Regions from separate parts of the Homo sapiens genome. Here all the other regions are linked to region 3. Evidence: promoter capture Hi-C in 16 types of primary human blood cells and fetal thymus (Javierre and others, 2016). All regions are on one chromosome and are shown on one strand. Each heading gives the region's core, a stretch centred on a gene start or on the middle of the fragment in contact. The rest is flanking DNA. Distances are from core to core; before and after follow the strand shown.

The links. The method cuts DNA at HindIII sites, captures the fragments that hold promoters and counts their contacts. A CHiCAGO score of 5 or more calls a contact.
Region 1: a fragment that was not itself captured here is called in contact with the fragment with the promoter of CYB561D1 in region 3 in 1 of 17 cell types (M2 macrophages); the score reaches 5.5 in M2 macrophages.
Region 2: a contact is called between a fragment that was not itself captured here and the fragment with the promoter of CYB561D1 in region 3, in 2 of 17 cell types (total CD8 T cells and naive CD4 T cells). The highest score is 7.6, in total CD8 T cells.
Region 4: a contact is called between a fragment that was not itself captured here and the fragment with the promoter of CYB561D1 in region 3, in 4 of 17 cell types (non-activated CD4 T cells, M1 macrophages, megakaryocytes and 1 more). The highest score is 6.3, in non-activated CD4 T cells.
Region 5: a fragment that was not itself captured here is called in contact with the fragment with the promoter of CYB561D1 in region 3 in 2 of 17 cell types (naive CD4 T cells and fetal thymus); the score reaches 5.3 in naive CD4 T cells.
Region 6: a fragment that was not itself captured here is called in contact with the fragment with the promoter of CYB561D1 in region 3 in 5 of 17 cell types (M2 macrophages, M1 macrophages, megakaryocytes and 2 more); the score reaches 11.2 in M2 macrophages.
Region 7: a contact is called between a fragment that was not itself captured here and the fragment with the promoter of CYB561D1 in region 3, in 8 of 17 cell types (megakaryocytes, endothelial precursors, M2 macrophages and 5 more). The highest score is 8.8, in megakaryocytes.

What each region holds. Positions count from the first base shown.
Region 1 is chr1:109,961,076-109,963,882 of GRCh38, reverse strand. No RefSeq gene overlaps it. Among named protein-coding and RNA genes, the nearest start is that of AHCYL1, 22 kb to the left of the region's middle. The HindIII fragment of the contact is 7,765 bases long and covers 1-2,807 here.
Region 2 is chr1:109,219,942-109,222,835 of GRCh38, reverse strand. All of the region lies in intron 1 of SARS1 (seryl-tRNA synthetase 1), which reads right to left. Among named protein-coding and RNA genes, the nearest start is that of SARS1, 7.5 kb to the right of the region's middle. The HindIII fragment of the contact is 2,644 bases long and covers 195-2,838 here.
Region 3 is chr1:109,492,153-109,495,353 of GRCh38, reverse strand. It overlaps CYB561D1 (cytochrome b561 family member D1), which reads right to left and starts at 1,260. Exons shown (of 3, transcript NM_182580.3): 1 at 1,067-1,260; 2 at 174-211. The coding sequence starts at 1,214. It overlaps ATXN7L2 (ataxin 7 like 2), which reads right to left. Exons shown (of 11, transcript NM_001350175.2): 11 at 2,620-2,768. The coding sequence ends at 2,754. RefSeq lists enhancers at 620-1,120, 1,110-1,189 and a silencer at 1,260-1,489. The HindIII fragment of the contact is 3,360 bases long and covers 1-1,671 here.
Region 4 is chr1:109,786,294-109,789,419 of GRCh38, reverse strand. No RefSeq gene overlaps it. Among named protein-coding and RNA genes, the nearest start is that of EPS8L3, 24 kb to the right of the region's middle. RefSeq lists enhancers at 806-1,689, 1,690-2,573. The HindIII fragment of the contact is 4,535 bases long and covers 1-3,126 here.
Region 5 is chr1:109,090,558-109,093,497 of GRCh38, reverse strand. TMEM167B (transmembrane protein 167B) reads right to left here and starts at 2,734. Exons shown (of 3, transcript NM_020141.4): 1 at 2,616-2,734; 2 at 477-608. The coding sequence starts at 2,625. It also overlaps the pseudogene NDUFB3P1. RefSeq lists an enhancer at 2,901-2,940. The HindIII fragment of the contact is 160 bases long and covers 1,187-1,346 here.
Region 6 is chr1:109,196,055-109,199,238 of GRCh38, reverse strand. It overlaps ELAPOR1 (endosome-lysosome associated apoptosis and autophagy regulator 1), which reads right to left. Exons shown (of 22, transcript NM_020775.5): 16 at 1,585-1,765; 17 at 1,164-1,260; 18 at 565-666. Among named protein-coding and RNA genes, the nearest start is that of SARS1, 16 kb to the left of the region's middle. RefSeq lists an enhancer at 703-1,902. The HindIII fragment of the contact is 6,896 bases long and covers 1-3,184 here.
Region 7 is chr1:109,764,469-109,767,279 of GRCh38, reverse strand. All of the region lies in intron 1 of LOC124904258 (a long non-coding RNA gene), which reads right to left. Among named protein-coding and RNA genes, the nearest start is that of EPS8L3, 2.0 kb to the right of the region's middle. The HindIII fragment of the contact is 572 bases long and covers 1,099-1,670 here.

The DNA of each region.
Region 1 (2,807 bases), core at 287-2,786, 470 kb before region 3:
TTTTTTTTCAGTCTCTTTTCTCTTTGGAAGTTTCTATTGCCATATCCTCAATCTGAGAGATTCCTCAGCCACGTCTAGTGTGCTAATGAGCCCATCAAAGGCATTCTTCCTTTTTGTTGCAGTGTTTTTTTATCTTTAGCATTATTAAAATTCTTTCTTAGAATCTCCATCCCTCTGCTTACCCATTTGTTCTTGTATGTCGTCTACTATTTCCATTACAGGCCTTAATATATTAATCATAGTTGTTTTAAAATCCTGGTCTGATAATTCCAACATCCCTGCTATACCTGAGCTTGGTTATAATGCTTGCTCTGTCTTTTTAAACTATGTTTTTTGACTTTCAGTATGTCTTACACTTTTTTTTGTTGCACACCAGATACAATGTACTGGGTAAAAGGAACTCTGGCAAACAGTCCTTAGTGGTGTGGAGTTAAGACGTAGGGAGAGGATAAGCATTCTATATAATGAGGTCTCAGTTTTTTAGTAAGCCTGTGCCCCTGGGCTGTAAACTTCACAGTGCTTCTCAATATCCACCTCAACTTGCAATGTGGGACACGATGGCTGCAGTGGGCTGGAGTTGGGTATTTCTCTTCCCCCCAGTTGGTTTTAGGCGCTGATAAAACCCCATTAGGTTAGGCTCTGGTAAAATCGTTTCCCTTGAAGGCAGACCTTGTCCAGAAGAACAGAATGCTCTGGCATATTTCAAAATGGTTACTTTTCCCTAGAAGTATAAAGGGATTTTTCTCTAGTACTCTCTGTGAGAACCTGGTAGAGCTCATGGAGCTAAACCTCACAAAAAACTTGTGAGGCCTCCCTCTGACTGGGACCCCCTGGAGTTTTTATTTCTCAGACTTGTCCACAATGGAGCCTCTAGCAATTTATCAATTACAGTTTAAGTTGTTCTACCCTAATACTGGTTCCCACAGAAGTTTCTGCTCATGGGTTTCTGCCTTGGTTAAGTTGTAATTCTCTGTATCTGTCTCTCTAATTTTAGAGGCAGTGATTTGTCCCGTGACCTCACTTCTCTGAAGGATCTAAGAAGAGCTGTTGATTTTTCAGTTGTTCTTAAAATTTTTTAAATAAAAGAATGAGGAGTTATAAATGAGGAACAGAGTATAAGGAATAATAAAATTTTTCCAAATGTTAGCAAGTTATCTCCACATGGTTATCATCAACGCATCAAATTCAATATATTCAGAATCCCTTTAATTGACTTTGCCTCTTAGGTTCTGGATTTTCAGTCTGGTGCCACCTTTCTGTTGGTCATTCATGTTTGAAACTTTGGGTCATCTTTGACCATTCTCTCTATCTAAAGATTTCTCAATTACCATGTCATGTGTGCTATGCAATTGTAACTTAGTTGTACATCCGTTTTCCTGTCTTTTTCCCCCTGCCCTCCCCTAGTCCATCACCACTTGTCAGGACTTTTGAAATTGCTTCCTAATACTTCCCTGTCTTAAGAGTCAACTTTGGTGGCAGATCAACCTGAGATTAAATCCTAGCTCTGCCACGTATAGCTCTTTGATCTTTGGTATAAAATACTTAACCTCTTTGAACCTTGGGCAGTGCTATAGTTTCAGTATTGGTCCCCTCCAAAACTCGTGTTGAAATTTAACCCCCACTGTGGCAGTATTGAGAGGTAGGGCCTTTAAGAGGTGATTGGATCTTGAAGGCAGAACTGTCAGGTGTGTGGTGGGGCCTGCAAGTAGTTGCCTGCAGCTCCTCTGCCCTCTTCATTTCACCTACTTTTTTTTTTTTTCGGTGGGGTCTTACTCTGTCGCCCAGGCTGGAGTGCAGTGGCGTGATCTTGGCTCACTGCAACCTCCACCTCTGGGTTCAAGCGATTCTCCTGTCTCAGCCTCCCGAGTGGCTGGGATTACAGGAGGCTGCCACTATGCCTAGCTGATTTTTGTATTTTTAGTAGAGATGGGGTTTCATCATGTTGGCCAGGCTGGTCTCAAACTCCTGACCTCCGGTGATCCACCTGCCTTGGCCTCCCAAAGTGCTGGGATTACAGGTGTGAGCCACCGTGCCTGGCCATTTCACCGACTTTGTGAACTTTTCTTCTCCATTTCCCCCCATCTGTTTGCCAGAGGGGTGGGACTGGAAACAGAACAGCTGTGGCTGCTTTGTCTCTCCCCTCCGTGGTGACTTATGGCCTGAGTGGTGACTTACAGGAACCTGGCCACCTAGGTGCTATGCGCCCTCTTAACCTTTGAACTGGAACTGCTGGCTCACACAAGGTTTTGAACAGCTGCAGCAAAAATCCTACAGAAAAGCTGGATTCCTTTGCCTTATGTGGAAACAGCAAGGCCCTGCCAGGTGCTCACCACTGGTCCTGGCAGAAGTGGCTGCTGCTGAGAGTGACCTTCCAAATCCTTGGTGGAACTCAGCACTACAGGCTCTTAAATAAAAACCCTTTAGACACAGAAAAAAGAAAAAAAAAAAACAAAAAAAACTCTCAAACATTTGATGTGAACAGTGCCCTCATTTGTGTATTAATTCATTCATGGATTAATGGATTAAATGGTTAATTAATTAGTTAATTAGCTTGCTCAGCCTCTCACCATGGGGTGCCCCGAACTACCTGGGGACTCCCTACCAGCAAGAAGACTCGCCAGATGCAGCCCCTCAGCCTGGGACTTCTTAGCCTCCATCACTGTAAGAAATAAACTTCTTTAGAAGTTAGTCAGTTTCAGGTATTCTGTTATAAGCAATAGCAAACAGACCAATATAGACATCACCTATAAAACTGAGGTAATAATACTCAATTTACAGGATGATTGTGAGGGTTGGAATACATTATG
Region 2 (2,894 bases), core at 267-2,766, 270 kb after region 3:
GTTTTGCTGTGTTGCCCAGGCTGGTCTCAAATTCTTGGGCTCAAGCGATCCACCCATCTTGGCCTCCCAAAGTGCTAGAATTACAGGTGTGAGCCATGGCATCCAGCCAAACTCAAGCTTTTAAGAGGCAAAATTGATGACTAGAAATAAGATAGCACCTAGAGAGCCATTCTTTAAGGCTTTACCAAGAAGCTTTCCTCTTTGATACCTCTTTAACAAAACTTCAATGCAAAATGATATCACTATTTTCTCATTCACTTATTCACATTGATAAAACTATAGAGATGGATAATAGATTAGTGGTTGCTAGGGGTGAGATGGAGGGCAAAGGGAGTAGACTACAAAGAGATAGCAAGAAGGATCTTTGTGGTGATGAAACAGTTCTGTATCTTGAGCATGGCAGTGGTTATACAAATTTACACATGGTAAGATTGCACAGAACTACACACACACATGTGTGCAAAACTGGCAAAATCTGAATAAGGTTTGTGGATTGTAGCAATGTCAATTTCTTGGTTTTAATATTGTACTAGAGTTATATAAGATGTTATCATTGGGGAAAACGGGACCTTTCTACTATTTTTCCAACTTCCTGTAAATCTATAATCGTTTTGAGATTCCCTCCTATTTGCAAGGCACCAAGGTAGGTATTGGGAGTATAAAAGAAAATAAGGCCAGGTGTGGTGGCTCATGCCTGTAATTCCAGCACTTTGGGAGGCTGAAGTGGGTGGGTCGCTTGAGCCCAGGAATTCGAGACCAGCCTGGGCAACGTGGCAAAACCCTGTCTCTACAAAAAAAAAAAAAAAAAAAAAAAAAAAAAAAAAATATATATATATATATATATATATATATATATATATATATACACACACACAAAAAAATTAGCTGAGCATGGTGGTGTGTGCCTGTACTCCCAGCTACTTGGGAGGCAGAGACTGCAGTGAGCCAAGATCATTCCACTGCACTCCAGGCTAGGTGACAGAACAAGACTCTATCTCAAAAGAGAAAAAGAAAAGAAACAAAAAGAAAATAAAACAAAACCAAATATTGTAACAATGCTGAATGTTTCAATCAATGAATATAGTATATCCCTTCATTGTTTTTAATTTCTCTCAGCAATGTTTTGTAGTTTTCAGTATATGAGTCTTAAATGTTATTTATTAGGTATATCTCTATGCACCTGGTGCTTCTAAACTGTTACTTGTATATAGAAGTACCTTTGATTCTGTGTATTGTATCCAGTTATTTTGTTAAAGTTATTTAATTGTAATAGTTCAGATTCTGCATACACAATCAAGTGATCTGCAAATAATGACAGTTTCTTCCATTCCAATCTTTTATTTTTGTTTCTTGCCTTCTTCATACTGCCTGGAACCTTTGGCATGATGTTGATTAGAAGAGGTGATAAGAGACATACTTGTCTTGTTCCTAACCTCAAGGGGGAAAGCATTCGATATTTCATCATTAAGAAAAATGTGGCCGGACGCAGTGGCTCACACCTGTAATACCAGCACTTTGGGAGGCCGAGGCGGGCGGATCATGAGATCAAGAGATCGAGACCATCCTGGCCAACATGGTGAAATCCTGTTTCTACTAAAAATACAAAAATTAGCTGGGCGTGGTGGCACGCACCTGTAGTCCCAGCTACTCAGGAGGCTGAGGCAGGAGAATCGCTTGAACCTGGGAGGTGGAGGTTGCAGTGAGCTGAGGTCACGCCACTGCATTCCAGCCTGGTAACAGAATGAGACTCTGTCTCAAGAAAAAAAAAAAAAAAGAGAAGAAAAGAAAAATTAGCTATGGGTTTTTCTGTAAGTATCTACTATCAGATTAAGGAAGCTCCCTTCTATTCTCAGTTTATTGCATTTTTACCATGAGCAATTGACTCTCCACATTAAAAAAAATTTTGATCTATCTCACATAATACACCAAAATTAATATTAAATATATCTTATACCTAAATGTAAAAGGTAAAGAAATAAAATGTCTACAAAAAAACTGGAGAATCTCTTCTGAAGGTTAAGACATAACATGATTTTCAAAACAGAATACAAATTCTGTGATTTATCTATTGTGTTTTGGAAACACAATAGACAAATCACAGAAGAAAAGTCAATAAATTAGACTTCATTAAAATTAGGAACTTCTATTCATCACAAGACTGAAAGAATGAAAAGGCAAGCCACAGAATGGGAGAGGAGATCTGTGGTATCTGTATCTCACAGGTATTCTTCTATCCACACGATATAAATAATTCCTACAAACCACTAAGAAAAGGACAAATAAAAATTGGTCAAAAGGCTTGAACAGATACTTCTCAAAATAGGCTATCCAAATGCCATCAACTTATGAAAAAGCGCTCAGTATCTTTAGTCACCAAAAAAATGCAAATTAAAATAACAATGAGACACCACTATATATCTACCAGAATGGCTAAATTAAAAGGACTGCCAATGTCAAGTACTGGCAAGAATGCCAAGCAACTGGAACTCTTAGATATTGCTGGTGGGAATATCAATCATTACAACCACTTTGGAAAACTACTTGGTATTATCTACTAAATCTAAACATGTGCCCACCCTATGATCCAGCAATTCTACTCCTTGGTACATACCCAACAGAAATGAGTGTTAATGTCTACCAAAAGACACACATAAGAATGTACATATGTTCTTATCACAAAATATAAGTATTTGAGGTGATGGATATGTTAATTAGCTGCTTTTATTATTCCACATTGTATTCATAAATCATAACATTACATTGTACCCTATAAATATATACAACTATAATCTGTTAATTGCCAATCAAACATTTTTTAAAAAAGAGTCTCTAGAAGCTTATTCATAATGCCCTCAACCGGTAACAACCCAGTTTATCCAAATGTCATGCAGTAA
Region 3 (3,201 bases), core at 11-2,510:
TGGCCCAGCCCTCCAGGTTTCCCAATCCCATAGGCTGCAGGGAAAGATGAGCCCTAGATGTTTCCTCCACCTGTCTTAGCCTTAGAAAGGCTGAGCTTTCTGAAAGCTGGGTGCTTCCCTGGGAGAATGAGGTGAGGAATACCCAAACAAATCAGATAGAAGCCTAAACTCACCGCCAAGGCCATGAATACAGGGTGCCAGGAGAAAAGACCTAAGAATCAAAGAGAACAGGCTGAGGGCTTGGTACCATTGTTCCTGCCCCTGTAGCTAGGTGGAACCCAAAGAATCTAGCCACAGGAGAAAAGTACCATCCCCAATCCTAATCGGGCACAGGAACTAAGGACAAAGTGGAGCAGCCAAGGAGCCCCAGGGTGAGCAACCAAGAGGGCCTCCTTATCCACACACATACAACAGTTTGGCCCGGGTTCCCCGTTCAGCACCTCTCAGCTGGCAGCCCAGTCCTCTGCCCCTTTTTTGTTTTTTGTTTTTTTTGGTTGTTGTTTTTTGTTTTTTTTTTGATACGGAGTCTCGCTCTGTCGCACAGGGTGGAGTGCAGTGGTGCAATCTCGGCTCACTGCAGCCTCCACCTCCCGGGTTCAAGCGATTCTCCTCCCTCAGCCTCCCAAGTAGCTGGAACTACAGGCGCGCGCCATCACGCCTGGCTAATTTTTGTATTCTTAGTAGAGACGGGGTTTCACCATGTTGGCCAGGCTGGTCTCGAACTCCTGACCTCAAGTGATCCACCCGCGTCGGCCTCCCAAAGTGCTGGGATTTCAGGCATGACCCACCGCGCCCGGCCTCCTTCACTTCTATCCTCCATCAGGGGACCTGTTTCTGAGGAAGTAGTTCGGTCTGTTCAATCGTCTGCCCTTCCCCCACAGCACCCAAAACCCCATTATTCCAGGATCCCTGGGGCCCCGCCCCACCAGGCCCTCAAAATCCCTCCACTGTTTCTGTCTCCCCTTTACTGCTGGGGTCCCTCCTCCAAGTCTCCCGGGGCTCCCAAGCGCTGCCCCTCCAGCATCTCCACTCCGCCCCCTTCCGCAACCCCGCCCCGCACACTCACTGGTTCCTGGCCGGGACAGCGCTGTCAGAAAGATGGTGAAGCCCAAAGCTACCAGGTGCGCCAAGATCCCACTGCCTCTCCGCAGCCAGCGGGTCAGTCTCGGCTCCCCAGCTGGAGCGGGAACCAGACCTACCTCCAGGGGCTGCATGGCCGTGGCCCGCGGGCCCGTACACTCCAGCTGCCCGAACACGTCTTCCGGGTTTGCGATCGCGGAGGCGGTGGCGGCTGCAGGAGAGGCTCCTCCCCGGGGACGCCGCCGGCAGTGCGGCGGAGTGGCCCACAGCGCCCTCTGGGGGCTGGGGGGGAAACGCGAGTGCCCCGGAGAGGCCCGCTCCCGCGAGAGCCCGGAGGCAGAAGGGGACCGAACAGTTCCCAGCCCACCTTCATTTGTATCTGTGTGTCTGTCTACAAGGGCCTAAATCCCAAGCAGCCTGTGGAAATTACTTTTGTGGCAAACGATTTCAGTGAAACCCCAAATCACACACTTGGTACGCTGAACCAAGACTGTGAAACAAGTGTTTGGAGCCGATTTCTAGTAGTACTGGATTTCCCTGGCTGTGCACTGTCTCCTGTCACCTCATTTTGTCTTGTTCAGGGAACAAGCTTCCTCCATGCCTAAGAGCAAGGAGAATAGGAAAGGACATCGCCAAAATATAGTGCCTTGAACCTGGTGGACCAAAGGAGGGAAATGCAAGTCTCCTCTCGCATCTGCACGGGAGTGGTCCCCAGCGAGATAAATGGAAAAACTAGGGCACTCCCAGCCCTGCCGCCTCCTCAGCAGCTGCTCAGCCCTGAGGAGCCAGGTGATCCTGAAGGACCAAGGCCTCCCACACTCCTGTGGCCTCCCACACCACCAGTTCTGCAAGTGATGATGCCTTTTCCCTTCCTGCCTCCAAAAAAGGGGTGGTTCAACCCAAGGAGGCCTCCCTGGGAAAGGTTCTACCCCTTCCTTAAAGGCAAACCCACAGGCAGGGAAGGAAGGCTGTCCAATAGAAAACAGGAATATCCCAACAGCAATGACCAACCCAGCTCAAGCTCCCTAAGTGGCTGAGAAAATGAGGCTGCAGGAACAGCTGAAGAAAAGCAGGCAATAATTCAGGGAGGGATGGATGCCTAGGGTTGCTGAAGGACCAGAAAAGGGTCACAAGCCAATTCCCAGACCCTCGGGGCAAGGATCCTAGAAAGAGCCAGAAGTGCAGCTCCCCCTCTCGAGTTTCTCTTCCCAATGGGACCATAGTCGTCTCTGGTGTCAAGACTCAGGAAGCCTTACTCATTCAGAGCCACACGCCTCATCATCCTGTCTGGAAAGACTACCCCAGTGACACAAACATTTTTCACACTATTGAAAATGACAAGATGACAATAATAATAATAATGAGCATAAGAGACTTTTGCAGGCAAGCTATGGGAGCTGGAGTCTGGCTGCCTATCATCTCAGCCTCCCAGGGTAGGGCTGGGGACAGTAAGGACACTCATTTTGTTATTTTTTTTCCTTCCTTTTCTATGTTTCTGTTTTTATATTTTCATAGCAGCAACAGAACAGGGAGACAGTCTTGAGGTATTTTAAAGAGCTTTTTTTCTTAAAAAAAAATAATATAAAGTTATAAAAAGCGGCAGCAGCCTGGGGCCCGGATCTGGAGGGGAGGAGGTGCTGGCGGCTCCGTTGCAGTGGGCAGGCACTTTCTCGTTAATGGGCTTTTGACTGCAGGAAGACAAGAGGCGAGAGAAAGGGTCAGGGTGGGGGCCTACCAGCTGTCCTACCCAGTGAACTGTGTGCACTACAGAGGCTAAAGCTTGATTTCCTTCTGCTGGCCTGGTGAGTAAAACTGAGCAAGGGGGAAGATGAATGCCAGCTCACCAGGGGCAGCCTGGGTAGTGAAGCTGGAGAACACACAGGGTTTATGATTAGGCCCACATCTAACCCAGGAGAGCACCCCCGTCCCACCTCCAGTAAGTCCCTCCTGGCAGAGATCATATGGAGAGCACATAGCACACTACACCAGGGCTCCCACCAGAAGAGGCAAATAAAACTGGCTGCAGGCTTTACTGGAAACCCTGGAGAACTTGCCTGTCACCTGCACACCTGGAGGTGGGCACATGTGCATAAGTGGACATGGGGTTGTGTGCCTGCCCTT
Region 4 (3,126 bases), core at 50-2,549, 290 kb before region 3:
AGGAAGTAGACCAGGGAAACGGCCAGGGGTGAGGCAGATAGGTCTGCAGATGGGCTGGGAGCAGCCTTGTAGGAGCAGAGGAAAGAGAGTACTGTTCTAGGGTGGCCTGAGAGTAAGGGGTAGTGAGGGAAGTGGCCACTAGGGTTGCTGCAGGACACCAGAGGCATCTCTGGGAAACCTGTGGAGCCTGCTGAATGCCTCCAGGTGCATGGTGGGGGCCGGGGAGCAGAGGCCTCATGGACGTAGCAGCCCCAAAAGGGCAGGTGCATGGGGGGTGGTTCCCAGGGGTGTTCAAAGGCAAAAATTAAAATGGTAACTCCCTCTGCGAAGAGACCCCTGGGCATGGTCCAAACTGATTCAACAGCAAGCATACTGCCCTTGACAATGTCCAGAGCCCAGGCCACCACCTAGAGGCCGCACCAGCACTCTCTGGGCCCATGTTGCTGCCCTATGCCAAGACGCAGGTCCCTGGAGGCACGAGCAGCCTGGAGCTGACCTGGGCTTCCTCAGGTGCAACAGGCACATGGAGTGTCTGAGAGGCACAGGAGCAACAGCCAGTGCCCCCTGCAGAGGACCACTGGGGTCACAGACTTCAGACCTGATGACCTGGGCTCAGATCCCAGCTCTGCACCTACCAGCCGTGTGACAAGGTGTCCTCTCTGAGCCTCAGTCACACACTGCCTTAACGGTTGGGCCTCATGGAGCTGTTTGTGAAGGTTAAATGGGAAGACATAAAGCACTTAGCCCAGAGCCAAGGACATGCTGAATAGGATAATGGTGGCCTCCTTTGGCGCTGTGCTGGTGCAGGTGTGCCGAGGAACTGGGCAGGGGTGACAGATACCTCTTCTAACCTAGTTCCTTTCCAAGAACCTAATTGGTGTCTCTCCCTCCCCCAGGCAATTGGAAGGAGGAGGCTGGGCCCCAGCCCCAGAATACGGGAGGTTTCTCACCGTGGTAGGGAAATTGCTGGGTTGGGGGTGTGGGCAACCACAGTGATCGTCTCTCTGCAGGACGGATGCGGCTTTGCTGACAGAGAGTCTGCGGCCTGGACATGCCAGCGGTGCAGGTCTGAGGTCAGCACTGGGGAGCCGGGCTGGGCCCCACCAGGGCGAGACATCTGCTTTCAATCAGCTGCCCTTCTGCCCGAGAAGGGGGTGAGGGCTGAGACCTCCCCCAAGCCCAACTTCTCATCACACAGAATGGACACTGAGGGCAAAGGAGGCAGGAGAAGCTCTAGAGACCCAGGTCAAAGAGATAGAGGTTTATTTTTGTTAAGCCACTTAAACTAAATCCTTCAATAGCTCTCTTTTGCAAGGCCATGCCCAGTCCGGCCAGTCAGCCCCCAGCCTCCCCCCGCGCCGCCCCAGCTCATGCTGCCTTGTCGCAAGCCTCTGGCTTGTCCGCCACTCGAGGGCTTTGCACTCACGCCCTGGGGGCCCCTGCCCTGCCCTGTGCAGGCTGACTTGTCATCCTTCAGCTGAAATCCCACTTACTCAGGAAAGGCTGTGGACGCATTTCTCCAACCCTGTTGACAATCTTGTTGAACACAGTTTGCTTTGTACCTATGTGTTCATCTGCATGGCTACTGAATGTCTGCCCCCCACCCCACTCTAGACTGTAAGCCCCATGCGGGCAGGAGCTAAGGCTGTCTTCCTCAGGACAATATCCCTAAAATTCAGAGCAGGGCCTGCCACAGAGTATGCGCTCAATAAATACTTGCCGAATGAATGAATGACTCATGCCTCTAAATATTTATAGCAGTTTCCTTCTGTAATCTTCAATGGTTTGAGTTCCACCAGATCCCTGCAGGATAATCAGTGCTTACGCCCATTTGACAGGCCCAGGTGAGTTAATGACCCTGGCTCCCAATCCATCCTGACTCACAGTATCAGGCTACCTTTGTCTAGGAGGAGGAGGAGGGACAAACTGGGAGAAGAGAGGCACGTGCCACAGAACCGGAGACCAGAGAGAGGGCTGGGTGAGAGACCAGCAAAGGGTGGGGGCACTGCCGGGGAGCCACATGCCAGCAGCCAGGCCCATCACACCCCATGTCAGCCTGTGTGGAATCACTCCCCATCCTGGAGAAAGTCCAGGAAGATGCCCACTGGGGATGTGCCCCAGCGACCACCCCCTATCCCTGCCAGTTCTCACATCCTTCTCCTGAAATGGCCATGCACTAAGCGGGCTTGCAGTCAACCACCCCAGGGTCAAACCAACGTGCTGCCTCTGACAGCTAAGCAATCTCAGACAGTTTAGTCAACTTTCTGAGCTTCAGTCTCCTCAAATGTGAAATAGTACCATAATAGAGCTGGCCTTAATGAGCAGTGGTGAAGCACCCATGAGCCCATGAAAGTTAAGCACACAGCAGGAAGAACTGGGTCTCTATGTTTCCACGGCCGCCATTGGCTCATGGGGACCATCCGTTGGGTATTGAGTGGTCTTGCTCTTGGCGGTAGACAGGGCTTATTCCCCTCCACCTGGGAGTGTCTTGAGGACAAGGACCTTTGTATCCCCCAGGGCTCCCAGGCCAGCCCAGACCCAGGTTGGGCTCTCAGCTAGATGCACGAACACATGAGTGTTTGTTTGGATCCAGAGTAAAAGCTCTGTGAATTTCCTGCTGATGTCAAGAGCAGGAGAGCTGGGGGGAGGAGATCTCTTCTGCCACACCCAGGCACTGAAGGATGGGTGTGCAGAGGGCAGAGCTGGGAGGAGCAATAAACGCCAGAGAAGAAGAGGACAGAGCATGACTGGAGCGGGCGCAAAACCCAGAAAAAAGGCTGTGTTGGAGTTCAGGAGGCCCTGCAGAGAGCAGATTTGGCCTGGGACCAAGAAGTGTAGCCTCAGAGCCTGGGAAGAAAGGACAGGAGGCCTGGGAAGGCATGGCAGAATTAGCCCAGACCTTGATCTGTGGGTTGGAAAGAGGCTGGGTGTCCCTTAATAGCACCTGCTTAGCACAGTGCCTGGCACACAGCACATGCTCAGTAAACATTTGTTAAATGAATGAATGAAGAATGAGGTTTTTCCATAACTTCTGTACTAGTCTCTCCACCTCTGTCCACTCTAGCTGTCTGTACAGGCTTCCTCAGAACGCCACCACAGGAAGCAAACTCTAACCCACCCACTCCC
Region 5 (2,940 bases), core at 17-2,516, 400 kb after region 3:
TTTTTTGAGACAGGGTCTCACCCTGTCACCTGGGCTGGAGTGCAGTGGCTCCACCATGGCTCACTGCAGCCTCAACCTCCTAGGCTCAAGCAATCCTCCCACCTCAGTCTCCTGAGTAACTGGGACTACAGGCACGTGCCACCATACCTGGCTAATTTTTGTATATTTTGTAGAAATGGGGTCTCACTGTGTTGCCCGGGCTGATCTACAACTCCTGGACACAAGCAATCCTCCTGCCTTGGCCCCCCAAAGTGCTGAGATTATAGGCATGAGCCATCACACCCAGCAAATTTTAACTTTTACCTCTTCCCTCAACTTTGGAGAATGATTAATTTTCCAGACTCTCAGACCCAATCGGAGGGATTTTTTTCTAAAAATGAAACCAAATATAATCCCAGCTCACTGTACTCCCTACTTTGTAGCTCCACACTGTCCAGAGATGGCAGTCTCTTCTCCCTGTCCAGACATGGCCTCACCTTTGTAAAACACACCCCAAACACCCTTCTTCTCTGATAGCAGCCAGGTTTTGAGACGAGGTACTTTCTTGAAGTAGGCACAGGTGCAAACAAAGAGCAAACCAAACACCAGAATCCCATCCAAGGAGTACACTGTTAAATAAAGAAGAAAAGAAAACCTTAGGTACTGATCTAGCGTCGGACCTGTGATCCCGCCTGAGAACTCTAAGGAAGATAGTGTGTGACATAATAACAAAATAATAACCTCAACAGGCAGTACTGACACTTGACAAGGGGGAGCCAGGATCCTGGGACTAACACGATTATTTTACTGTTCCCAAAAATTGCTTGTAGGAGGAAGGGGGATCAATTGAGCCCAGGAGTTCGAGGCTGCAATGAACTACGATCATGCCACTGCACTGTAGCCTGAGCAACAGAGTGAGACCCCAACTCAAAAAAAAATTTTTTTTTTTACATCCCCTTTACTAAAATGTCACTGGTCCTTCCCCTCACCTTTCAAGAAGTAGAAATCCTGGGCAGAAATTAGCATCCCAGGAATGACTAGTGTTGGCAATAGATTGAGACATATGAATCCTTAGAGACTCAGCACAGAGAATTTAACATGTTCTTGTTATAAATCACTCATATGATAAAGGAGAGCTAGATATGTAGCCAAAACTGTCAGATGTGCAACTGTTGGTGAAGAATATGTTAAGGCAAAAAATTAAGCTTAATGAAAGTTGCAAGAGTAAGAATCCACATGACTACAATTTTCCTATCATTATCTTACACTTTATGGATGATACTCTTAACAAACCGAATTTCTGCCAGAATAATAACAGATTTTTCTAAAACAAAGAAAAAGTATCTAAGGCTTCAACATAGAAAGCTTTAACTTCTTAGCTCTGTTTCTTAAATACATAAACCAAGCTTATTTCTTGTACAGGGAAGCACAATGAATCACCTAATTGCAAAAAACAAGAAGATATTGGACCACAAAATGGGGGAAGAATGACTAAAATTTATTCAGCAACTACCGTGTCAAACTGCTGTCTTACTTCCTGGTTCAGATTCTGTCTTCCTCTGGGTAAATTCCCTTTTCTTACTGTGCCTAGTATCCTGAGACCTCTGACTTCCCAGGAAGCTCCAAATGAATATTATATATAACCAGTGTCTGCCAGTTCTAGATCACACTACCTCTCTTCCTCCAGTAAAACTGTCTCACAGCTAAGCTGTCACTAAGAAAGGGTCCAGCAAATTAATACATACACTAAGGTTTTCTGAGGAACTATACCTTCACGTGCTACCCCTTTTCTCTCATAAGTTTCTGCAGACAATGCCAAAATTCACAAGGAGGTTAAATTCGAGTCTTCAGTGCCAGGTCTATGGACAAAGTACTTTTGAGAAATGCTTTCCGGAGCCCCTCAAATCATCGTAATGCCTAAAAGGCTTTCTCTTCTCCTTTCCTGTAAGGTTGACACTAAAAATCATGAAGGCCCTCCTTCCTGTCCTCCTCTGGAATTCAGAATTCATAAAGTGTTTGAAGAGGCCTGGAAAATTAGGTCAGATAAACTGCCTCATCATCTAGAAGAGGCAGTGTCTAAATCCACCCTTTGCAACACTAGTCAGGGTCTCCACGTGGGATCACCCCGCCAGGACTTTAAAATCAGAAATCTTTCCGGTATTTTTCCGTAAGAAGAAGCTTTTGTGGGGTCTACATTCACCAGCAACCCCAAAAGTGTGGGACTTGATATTCTATGTCATTTATTGGCCCTCTCAACAAAACTACGGTCCGAAAGCATGAGAACGCAGGGAGCTGGGAGGAGGAGCCTCTCTCTTCCCCGGGTTTAAATAGCAGTAGTACCTCTGGGACTGACCTCTCCAAGGGCCAGAAAGAACTAAGAAAAAGAAAAGGGAAAGCAAAGCATAGGGATAGATAACTCGAGGTGTGAGCATAAGAGGCACTGGGGGTCCTAGATGAATATGGGAAGGGGGAACCCGTAGAGGAGTATAGGGGTACAGAAGTTAGGGGCGTCGAGAGGCCAAGGGGGGCCGGGCTGGGAGGGGGCGGGGAGAACGGCCACGTCAGTCCCGGCCCCGCCCGCCACGTTTTCCCTTCGTCCTTCACTCCCACCCTCCGCTCAGGGCATCAGTTCTCACCGTTCGTCATGGCGGCTGGCCCTGGACCTGGGTAGGGGGTCCGGGTTCAGTGGTAATAGCGGCGGAGATGGGGGAGCGCCCGCTTGACACTTCCCGATCCGGGCCGAGGTGACTGGAAGAAGCCGTAGTACGCAGGAGCAAGGGCCGAGAGGCGAGCGCCGAACGCTATCAGGAGTGGCTAGCCGATTGTCGAGCTCGGGAAACTGCGTGTTTACGTAGGGTAAGAAGAACGCTATCTCGAAGGCTTCGTACTTGGCCGTGGTAACTAAGTCTTTTCTGCGTGCCCCTGCGGGCGTAGGGCTGGGGCTGGCCCGCGTCAGTGTGT
Region 6 (3,184 bases), core at 10-2,509, 300 kb after region 3:
GTCCTGTGGTCATATTCATTTAGAAATTTTTGATTTAGTTCACTCAGCTATTAACCTCAGAACTGGGTATTTTCGTTGCAGAGAGATTCCTAGGATCCCTAAACCTTTACTAATCCTCATAATAGCCAGAGATCATGAAACGTCCTAAAGTCTCCTTGTCTCATTTAATCCTCAAAACAACCCGCTGAGGGAATTTAGCATTATGCCCATTTTTACAGATATGGAAAAAAGAGGCCTAAAGAAGGTAAGAAATGCATCCATGATAACATAGCTGGTTAGTGGAGGAGATGATTCAACCTGGCTCTCAGCCGAGCTGTTGGTTACCATGCTACGCAGCTGCTGCCTTAATGGACCAGGAATATGAGAATAGCTTTCACTCTTCCTTCTACCCCATTCTTGCCATATGAAGACTGAGGGTCTGGGGCCATGACTGTGCCCCTAAGCACCCATTAATGGATCTCAAACTCTTTTCTTTTTTGCTCTTTTTCAGTAATCTCTGGATCTCAGGATGGAATGACTTCAAGGGAGATTTTGGCCTTTGTTACATCCCTTTGCAGGGCTTACCCTGGCAGCAGCAAACTTCCAGGGACAGTTTTCTGTGGACTGCACCTGACGCGGATGGTGGTTGATCTCCCAGAACTGCAGGACTGGGTCACATCATTGGACCTGCAGAGAAAGCCAGCCCCCATGAGGGAATGAGTCACTCAGCTGTGTTATTGGACAGCCACCAAGAGAAATCCGCATGGAGCAATTCCCTTGCTGGGGAAGTCAGGACTTGGGCTTTAGCCTGGCACACAGGGAGTGCACAGGCCTTGGTTTATACGTGGAAAGGGTGGGGATCAACAATATGTAGTCAAGGGGGAAATGCCCTGGTTTAGGAAAGTCATGGCTAGCATACACTGGAGCCTGCTTAGGCTGGAAGGGAAGTCCACTGCAGATCATCCAATATTTCTCCTTGCCTCTAGGGCAGATCTGCTCCAGTAATATCCAGGAAGCTGGGATCAGGAACTCCCAGCCCTTAGCTATCATGACTGGGCAGATCTGCTAGACCTCAGACATGTTCTGGCTTGATAAGCAGTAGGTGGCTAGAGAGGGAGGGATGCAGCAGAAATTATGGAGGAGTCCTAGGTTTCACTTGCATTAGCCTAGCCTCTCATCTTCACCTATAAAAGAAGATCACGTCCGGTATTCCCAAGGACTCCAGGTGGAAAAGTTCAGCTGGGGAGGTGATTCCATCCAGAGTCATATCTGTTGTCACCCCTGCCAAATTAGAGCTCCTAATTAGTTCTCACTAGTAGCATTAGCTGGCAACCACTTCAATTCTTCCAATACCTGTCAACATCCAACCTCACTTCATCTCATCACATCCCTGAGTGGCTTATGAAAGGGTGAAACAAGGGTTTGTCAGAGTCCCTGGGAGCACTTTGCACACAGAGTGGAATAGAAAACACAGGTCAAGAGGTTGGGCCCCTCATGTGGGGCCTTTTACCTCCCAGACTGGTAACCTCACACTCTCTTACACATACACACACACACACACACACACACACTCTCAAACAAGGCTGAGGCAGCGGAGTTACTCACCAATAAGTCGATCAGCAAGGCTGACAGGCTGTGAGGAAACCCCGGCCTTGTAGCCTGTCACCTCTGGGGGGATGATGACTGCCTGGCAGACGTAGGCTGTGATAGATTTGGAGAACCCTGACTCACCCTCAGGAATCCGGAGGTCAGTGACATTGTCGGTGCACACAGACATTTTCCTACCCTGGTTGGGGAGTGGGGAGGAAGAAGTAGGAAGAAGTGAGTGGTCACAGAGGAATTCCCAGAAGGGAATAGGGAAGGCTTTTTTACATCTAAATTTTCAGCGTTTCAATGGTATGTTGTAGGGGAATGATTCATCCCAGGTCTAATGACGAGACAGATTTGATTTTTTTGTTTTGTTTTGTCTTTTTGAGACAGAGTCTTGATCTATTGCCCGGGCTGGAGTGCAATGGTGCAATCATAGCTCACTAAAGCCTTGAACTCCTGGGCTCAAGTGATCCTCCTGCCTCAGCCTCCTAAGTAGCTGGAACCGCAGGTTAATTTTTTTTTTTTTTTTTCGTAAAGATAGGGCCTCTCTGTGTTGTTCAGGCTGGTCTTGAACTCCTGGGCTCAAGCAATCTTCCTGCCTCAGTCTCCCAGAGTGTTGGGATTACAGGGGTGAGCCACTGTGCCCAGTCAACATTTTCAATGTTATAAATTTTATTATAAATGGTGCTGGCTGGGTGCAGTGACTCACACCTGTAATCCCAGCACTTCGGAAGGCCGAGGCAGGTGGATCATGAGGTCAAGAGATTGAGACCATCCTGGCCAACGTGGTGAAACCCCGTCTTTACTAAAAACACAAAAATTAGCTGGACGTGCTGGCGCATGCCTGTAGTCCCAGCTACTCGGGAGGCTGAGGCAGGAGAATCGCTTCAACCTGGGAGGCGGAGGTTGCAGTGAGCAGAGATCGTGCCACTGCACTCTAGCCTGGCAAAAGAGTGAGACTCCACCTCAAAAAAAAAAAAAGTGCTAAATCTGGTGTCTCAGCCTTTTTTTTTTTTTCTAGATTGTAGGAAGTAGATGAGCTTGAAAACTGAAGAAAACCTTTACATTACAATAAAATAGAGTTCTTTTGTCTTTGAACTAAGGATCTATCGTGTGGCAGTACATCATAAGCATTTCTAAACAGGAAAGGAGTAGATAAAAAAATACACCATTTCCCCAAATTCCCCACCTTCATTGCTCTCCATAATTCACTGAATGACACTTTTGCTACATGAAGCCTGCTTTAATCAGTCTTATTTCCTAAGTGATCATGACCTGTTACTTCTGAGGCTTCATTTTAACTTCTTCGAAGACTTCTGAAAACAAGATAGAGACACCTATCTCTAATCTTTCATAGATTAGTTTATTTCTTGACATGTTCTCTTTATAAACACCCATCGACTTCTTTGCATGCTGCAGAAGATGGGTCAGAGCTCTATGATGTAAAGGCCTTACCACCAACAGAGTCAAAGACTAGATGCTCAAGATGCTCTTTATATTGTCACTTTTTTTTTTAGATGGAGTCTTGCTGTGTTGTCCAGGCTGGAGTGCAGTGGCATGATCTTGGCTCACTGCAATCTCCGCCCCCTGGGTTCAAGTAATTCTCCTGCCTCAG
Region 7 (2,811 bases), core at 135-2,634, 270 kb before region 3:
TAGATTTATGTTTCTCTTTGCCCAAATATCTCAGCGTAGCAAAGAGTAACAGAGCAGTATTGCTGCCAGCATATCTCGCCTCCAGCCACAGGGCGGTTTTCTCCTATCTCAGAATAGAACGAACAGTCGGCTTTACACCGAGACATTCTGTTCCCAGGGACATGCGGGAAACAGAGGCCTTCCTCATCTCAACTGCAAAGAGGCCTTCCTCTTTTACTAATCCTCCTCAGCACAGACCCTTTACGGGCGTCGGGCTGAGGGATGGTCAGGTCTTTCCCTTCCCATGAGGCCATATCTCAGGCTGTCTCAGTGGGGGGAAGCCTTGGACTATACCCACGCTCTCTTGGGCAGAGGTCCCTGCGGCTTTCCACAGAGCATCGTGTCCCTGGTTAACAGAGAATGGAGAATGGCGATGACTTTTACCAAGCATACTGTCTGCAAACATATTGTTAACAAGGCACATCCTGCACAGCCCTAGATCCCTTAAACCTTGATTCAATATAGCACATGTTTCTGTGAGCACAGGGTTGGGGGCTAAAGTTACAGATTAACAGCATCTCAAAGCAGAACAATTTTTCTTTGTACAGATCAAAATGGAGTTTCTTTTGTCTTCCTTTTCTGCATAGACACAGTAACAGTCTGATCTCTCTTTCTTTTCCCCACAGGGACCCCAGTCATGGGGGTATCCCCCTCAATGTGATACATGCAGTAACAGAGGGACACATGTACAACGTGTCTGGAAGCCACGGGCCAGAGCCCCACCAGCCCTGGGCAGTGGGAAGGCTTCTGAAGGAGGGCTACTGGAGACATAAAGCCATAGCGTGTCCACAGGGCATGCCAGACAGAGAACAGCAGCCAGCCTGGTACCAGGGTGTGACCCTTCAAGGAATTACAAGCCATGCCCCAAGCCGAGTATAAAGTACAAGGGGCAGGGAGTTGGGGGGAAGATAAGGCCAGACTCAGAAGCAGGAGACTTGAGTTCATCAAGGACTTCAACTGCCCTGAGAAGGAGTTTAGGTTTTGTCCCGTGAGCAGCGGGAAGTCACTGAGGGGTTTTAGGCAGAGGAGTGGACAATCAAATCTCCAGCTAAGAAAGCTTCCCTACCAGCAACCAGTAAGGATCAATGAGAACAAGAGTGAAGCGAGGGCGTGGGTGAGGAGACGGCCGCAGGGTCGAAGACAGGAGGTGTAATGGGGTCTGAGGAAGACAGTCGCAGTGGGGTGGAGAGGAAGGGGGCCACTTAGGACTTGCCACAGAGCTGGGACTGCAGGAAGGGTAGTCCATTGGGTGTGAGGATTGAGGGAGGACTCCCCTCCCTGCTGGAACACACGATTGGGAGCTGATGCCTTCCCTGAGATGGGAGCATGAGAGGGGAGATGGTTTGCTGAGAAATAATGAACTCAGCTTGAATTCCAAGGTGTCTGTAAGCCCTCCAGAGGGATCCTAGCACCTCTCACAGTGCCTAGCAGGCAGGAAGCCCTCAATTCTACAGGAAGTTGTGGAATGAATGAACGAATGTGGTCCCACAGCCTTTTAACCCCACAATTTCAAGGACATGCCCTTCGAGTCCTGCTTCCTTCCCCTCCAACCTAAGTCCCAGCTCCTGGTGCCTCAGCCGAACTCCCTTGCAGAAGAGCTGCTGTGGCACCCGGAGCTTTGTGCAGAAGCTTCAGTTATGGCCCCAAGTCCCCAGGTATGGGAAGCTTGGCCTCTCCCTCTTTCCTGATTTCCCTCTTCCCTCAGGGGGCTCCACAGAAGCAGATGTCCCCAATACCTGGCCCCAAGCCCCAGACCCACCAAGGCCACAAAGGCTTTATGTCTGAGGAGACACACACTGCTCCCAGGGGCACCCCTAAAGGGCACTGCAGAGGGCAAGGTGCTGGGAATGCCACTCATTGTTTCTCTGCCCCTGCCCACCTTGCCCCAGAGCCCCCCCAGGAGTCCCTGCTGTGCTCACACTGACTTGGGGAGGGTCCTATGGGAAGGACGGGCCTGGCCTGAGCTGGGCAGAAATGAGGTGTTGCCTGAGCCCCAAGCCAGGGCTGGGGTGAAATATGACTGTGGCCTTCACGGAGTTGGGGGAGGCAACGAGGGGACAGGCTGTGCTATCCCAAAAGAAGCTGAAGGGCCACAAGATGGGGACCCAGGGGAAAGAACCCCAGGACTGCTTCCCATGGGGCTGTGGCTGGGTGCTGGCCTCACAGGCACCTGATCCCTGGGCCCCAGCAGCTGGCTGTCCACTGGACTCTCCCAGGGACACACACAGCCCAGACAGGGAAGGCACCTCCCTAGGATCTGACGCATGGACTCCAGGCCATCCAGGGCAGCGTTGGTTGGGTGGTGATGGGAGAGAAGGCTGAGATATCCTGGGATAGTTCCAGGGAAGCTAAAGATGGGAGTGCTCCAGCCCTCAGACTCCACAGGACACTCCATCACAGGGCCCAGCACCGGGACCCTGCATTCTGCCCACGAGGGTCCGAGGCTCACTGGCACTCCCCCGCCCCCGCCTCCCCTCCTGCCCTGCTCCCTGGTTTCTGTTTATACCTGGCCTTGTTGGTTAGACTGTGAGTTCCCAGAGGGCAGGGGAGCCTGGCCCACTCTGAGTGCCAAGAAAGATTTTTCGATACCATGGAGTGCAGGAAGTGGGTAGGTTTATGACTAGAGATAGATGCAGGCCTCCGTTTTCCATCTTTGCTGAAGCTGGCCAGGCGTCCACCAGGGGTCTGGGCACAAGATGGGGTACAGAAGGAAAGAGAGTGGAAGAGCGAGAAAGGGCTGGTAAGGGGGCTCCTGCTGGAAGGGACAACAGT